Regions from separate parts of the Homo sapiens genome. Here region 2 is linked to region 1. Evidence: promoter capture Hi-C in human tissues and cell types (Jung and others, 2019). All regions are on one chromosome and are shown on one strand. The core of a region is centred on a gene start or on the middle of the fragment in contact, and the rest is flanking DNA. Distances in the headings are between cores, read along the strand shown. Region 1 holds the start of TNRC6A (trinucleotide repeat containing adaptor 6A). Region 2 overlaps PRKCB (protein kinase C beta).

The links. The method cuts DNA at HindIII sites, captures the fragments that hold promoters and counts their contacts. A contact is called where the count stands out against the background at its distance.
Region 2: a contact is called between a fragment that was not itself captured here and the fragment with the promoter of TNRC6A in region 1, in 1 of the 25 tissues and cell types used here (dorsolateral prefrontal cortex).

Annotation. Positions count from the first base shown.
Region 1 is chr16:24,728,388-24,731,087 of GRCh38, reverse strand. It overlaps TNRC6A (trinucleotide repeat containing adaptor 6A), which reads right to left and starts at 1,437. Exons shown (of 25, transcript NM_014494.4): 1 at 1,242-1,437; 2 at 788-835. The coding sequence starts at 1,246. RefSeq lists a silencer at 1,099-1,408. The HindIII fragment of the contact is 13,221 bases long and covers 1-2,700 here.
Region 2 is chr16:23,857,805-23,860,504 of GRCh38, reverse strand. The region is part of intron 2 of PRKCB (protein kinase C beta); the gene reads right to left. Among named protein-coding and RNA genes, the nearest start is that of PRKCB, 23 kb to the right of the region's middle. The HindIII fragment of the contact is 4,841 bases long and covers 1-2,700 here.

The DNA of each region.
Region 1 (2,700 bases), core at 188-2,687:
ATGTGAAAAGGAGTTAAATACAGTACAATTCCTTGATGCTTAAGCAATTACAGCTCAATGAAGCTAAATATTTCCATTCCATAAAGACATCGTTTAAAAAAAAAAAAAAATTCTCCCTTCACGGTGATGCAAAAGCAGCAGGGCCCAACAGGAACGATAACCTCTTCTGGAGAAAAGATTTTTAATTATTTTACCAGCTGATAAAAAGAGCACACACCGAACATGGACAGAAATGGAGTTTCGAAGGAAAACAAAACGCAGCTTATGCTTGGTAAAGTTCAAGGACAAAACTGTGTCCAATGCAACAGAATCCGCCTGACTACAATGTATGGGGGGGGGGGGGGGGCGGGGGGGAATGCGAACACATAGTATCTTTTTATAAAAGCAACAATTTGAGCTACAAAGTAATAACGGGGAAGCCAAAACAGTTTGACAGCCCGCCATAAGGGCCGCCTCAATCATGAGTCACACAATGCCTGCAACCATTTACAATAGTAATTAATGCACAAGTCCCCTAATTAAATTCTAAAAGGGTGAGAATGCTTTAACTAAGTTTACAAGAATTGCTTTGCGCTTTTTTTTTTTTTTTTTAAAGAAAGAAACACACGCGTAATTACGCATCTCCCCGCAATCCCTCCAGTATTCCCCCAGGCCGCTTCTCCCGAATGTCTGCTCTCCGGGTGCGGAAGAAAATGTCACGGGGGAACTTCTCAACCCAGAAAAGGCGAATCGGAGTAGAAATATACGATTATCGTGGGGCGGGAGACGGAAAGCTCGCCCATCTTACCTGCTAAGATTTCTTTCTACGTCTTTGGTAGCTTTAGCTTCCAATTCTCTGAAACAAAAAAACAAAAACAAAAACAAAACAAAAACACACACACAAAAACGAGATGCGCGTGAAAACGGAGCTGCTGCGGCAGAGGCTCGCGCCGGGGCCGGATGGGGGAGGGGAGAGGACGGGGGGAGGGGGACTCACAAAGCTGCGGGGCTGCAGCCCGGACTGCGGTCCCGCGGCGCGGGCGAGGCGCAACCCCGGCCTGGCCCCCGCGGCGCGGCGCAGCGAGGCTCCCCCGGGCCGCCCGCTCGGCCTCCGCAGCAACGCAGCCTGCGCCCTCCCGCCGAGGCCCGAAGTCTCGGGGACGCCCGGCGCCGCCGCCTCTGCTGCCGCCGCCGCGGGTTGCGGGCCCTGCGGCAGCGCCCGCGGCTCCTCCCGCCCGGAGGGAGGCCCTTGTTCCGCTCACCTCATGTGTGTAAAGTGCACGAGCAAGTGGGGCGCGGCGAAGGAGGCTCGCGAGCCTCAAGCCCTCCGCAGCGCCGCGGGGAGAGGCCCGAGCCGCTGCACCAGCGCCATTTTCTACACCGACCCGCTGCCGCCGCCGCCGCCGCCGCCGCCGCCGCCGCCGACACCGCCGCCGCCGCAGGCCCCAGACCGGAAGTGAATGCCCCACTCGGCAACCCCTTCCGGGGGCGCCACGGCCACTGGCCCCCAAGATGGAGGCCCTAGCAACTGGACCCGCAGATTGGGCAGGTCCTTGGCAACCGCCCCGGCGTGTCACGCTGCACCCAGCCGGACCTCCCTGGAGGTCACAGCCTCCGAGGCGCCCCGCGGAGTGGCTGGGGGGGCCTGCGGAGTCCCGAGTCCAACCTTTTTCGGTGCGGCCGGCTCCGGTCTGACCGAGGAGGGGAGTCCCTCCCCTCCTCCTCCTTCTTTGCTGCGACACAAGTTTCCTACCCGCCGCCCGGCCCCTCCCCCACTGACACACGCCAAAAAAAAAAAAAAAAAAAATTGCCTAAAACGCAAATTTTACCCCAACTGCAGCCTGATGAGCCCGCGCGGCTTTTGAATTCAGCCACTTCTAATTATTTTTGACCTTGGGCCAGTTATTTAACCTCTCTGCTTCTCTGTTCCTCCTCAGGTAAAGAATGCATACCTGAGGCGGGTTGTGAGGCTTAAAAGCGATTTTTATCCACCGACCTTTGACTCAGCAGTTCCGCCTGCACGGATTTTCTGCTCAGGAAATAATTCTGGGTATCTGCAAATATTTCACCTTCGAGATACTAAGCTGTGGTATTGATGATGGTGAAAAATTGCAAACAGCCAAAATGTCCAGCGCTACTAGATGGCTTCAAAAACAGCTACTGGCATGTATTAGGACACTGTAAAAATGATGTGGAGGAATAATCCCGGCATGGAGGAAATGGTTGCAATAGAATAAATGAAAAAGCAGGTTCCAACGTAGCTCACACAGTAAGAAACATCTTAGTGTAGACACAGTAAGATACATACATGTAGATAGACTAAGATATGTATATATGTAGACACAGATGCATATGTGTACATTAAAAGTATACATACATACCTACATGTAGATACAATAAGACATACATATCTGCAGGTAGATACAACAATACACATACATGTAGATACAGTAAGATACATATTTTCACTTGCGTGTGTTCTTTCCAACCTCTCATCAAGCTTTTTCTTCTAATTTAAAGATAATTCCTCCTCTGTGCTTAAAATCTATAACCTTTACTTTCTCAGAAACCCCACTCTGTGGATCATCCCATTCTCCTTTTTCTAACCTAAGTTCTTCAACTGGCTTTTTTTTTTATTTTTTTATTATATTATCATTTTTTTTAGGCGGAGTCTCGCTCTGTCTCCCAGGCTGGAGTGCAGTGGCGCGATCTCCGTTCACC
Region 2 (2,700 bases), core at 175-2,674, 870 kb after region 1:
TTAAAAATGCACCCCTGTATTAACAACTCCCAAACATTTACCTCTATCCCTGACTTCTCATGACTTCCAGTTGCCTTTGGGCACCTACACCCGGATATGGCACAGGCACCTCATCCTCAACATACCCAACGCATAATTCTCTATCTTCTCCCCCAAGCTTTCTCTTCTTCTTGTATTCTCTGCTGCTATTCATGATATTTCTATGTATCAAGCACCCAAACCCGGACTCCCTCAATAGGTGACAACATTTATAGTACTTTTTTTTGGTACTAAGTGCCAGGGTGCCACTGCATCTTACACAAGCACTAACATATTTGATCCTGACAACTCTTATTAGGTAGGTCCTATTATCATTCACCCCTTTTTCAAAATGAAGAAGCTAAGGATAAGAAATTTGCCTGGGGTCATGAGATTTGAATGCAGGTCTGTCTAATTCCTCTTTTTTTCTGCTTCACAAAGAAAATAGAAACCACCAAGCAAGATTTCTCAACTGGCCTCAAAACTTCATTTATTTCCCACCCATTTTCCCATCACTTCTCATTTTCACCTGTGCTCTCCCCTCCATGGGTCCTTCCCTTCCTTGACAACTCTCTCGCTCTCTCTCTTTCTCTCTCTCTCTTTCTCTCTCTCTCTCTCCTAATGCTGTCAACCTCACCCCCTTGAGAAGTGCCATGCTCCCTTTGGGAACCTGGAGGTCTTTCTCTCCTGCTTTTAAAGTTTCCTGCCTTTTCTCTGCCTCCTCCAAATTTTCTATTCTTCAAGCTAAACATCCCCGGGTACTTCAACTACTTCTTCCTGCCAAGTGTCTTCTCTCTCTTGCTTCTCCCCGCACCTCACTGACATTCTTCCTCTCTCTTTCACTGCTTCCTCTGCCTCAAAACCCAACTGAGAACTCAGGCTCCTCTGTGCAGCCTCCCCAGGACCCTGGGAGGTGAGCTGCTCCTGGCATTTCTCCCCCCTCTCCACCATTACAGCACACATCACACTGAGTTATCAATGTGTGATTTATGAGTCTGGCCTACAAGTTTAGGGGCTGCTTGAGGACAGAAAGCAGCTTCCCCCTGCCCATCACAGGGCGGCTGACTATGCCAGCCAGACCACGCTGTGCTATCACTCCTTTTACACTACTCTCTTCTGAGTGGACTTTGGAAAAGATACAAAGGAGGGATCTCACACTTTCCAAATCAGACCCCACAACTTGATATGCCACCTTCTGTGCCCTGGCCAAAGACTGACCAGGGATACTGGTGGAGTAGCTGAACCTGGACCTTCAAGCCTAGGAGTCAGACCACCTGGGTTTGTTGCCCTCTTCAACTACTTAGCTTAGAGACCAGTGGCAAGTTAATTAATGTCTCCTGGGATTTGTTTGTTTAGAGAGAGGGTCTCACTCTGTCACCCAGACTGGAGTGCAGTGGTGCCATCAAAGCTCACTACAGCCTCAACCCTCACAAGCTCAAGGGATCCTCCCACCTCAGCCTCCTAAGTAGCTGTGAATATAAGCACGAGCCACCACACCTAGCTCATTTTTTTTTATTCTTTGCAGAGATGGGGTTTCACTATGTTTCCCAGGCTGGAAGCTATTTAATATCTCTAAGCCTCAGTCACTTCATGAAGTTAATAATGAGATCAACCTCCTAGGGTGCTGTGGACATTCAATGAGATCATGTGTGTGAAGCATCCAGCTCAGTGCCTCAATAAATTAGTGCAGCTCTTCAGGGAAGTATTATTCCATGAAAGTGCCTGCTGTATGTAACCCTCTTCCTTCCAAGTGACTCAACAGCTTGCATAGTTCTCAGCCTGTCCTCCCAGCCTGGTAACTTAGGCATGAAGAAATCAGCCTACTGTGATCACGTGGCCAATGAAAGTCCTCAAACTAGAAGCCACTTTCTGAATTCCTTATTCAAGGCTATGGCTAAAAAAATCTACACATGTGCAAACTCCCCCACTGGGAAAAAAAAAAAACAGTTTGATGGAAGTATTCCTCCCACTAGAGAATTTCCCCTTCCTGTCAAATGTTGCCAGTTTCATTCATTGCTGTGGCAGGCACACTTTCCTGGCCATGAGAGATGGGCCTTATCACCATCCCGTATACCAGATCCTTCCTGGTTGCCATTCTGCCACACTCTTACGGGGCCTTCCTCACCATGGTGCTCCTCTGTGACCCCCGGAGCCCTTCACCTTGGTGAACAGACAGTCTGACTCGAATGGACCTGAATTCAATCTACGCTCTGCAGTTACTTAAGCAAATGTTTTATCTTCTCTAAGCTTGCTTTCTTATCTACAAAAGGGATAAGAATAGCAGCAAATCTTAGTGGAAGGTAAAGATTCAAAGGGATAAAGTTTGTGAAAATGCCCAGCTCATTGCAGACACTGAAATATTAGCTGCCTTCATCATCATCATCATCATCCTCATCATCAACGTCATTGTCACCATCAATTCTGAAGTTACACAATCCTAAAACCAAGTCTATTTTTGAATCCTAACTGTAACTTTGGAAAAATTTCTCAATTCTTTGTGCTGTTTTCTCAGCATAAAATGGCAACAATAACAGTAGCAGCCACACAGGGCTGTTGTGAGGATTAAATAAGTTAATACATGTAAAGTACTTAGAACAGTGCCAGTCACCGAGTGAGTACTCAATAAATGTCAGCTCAAGTTAATGGCATTTGAAATCTTTGAAGACATCCAGGAAATGGAAA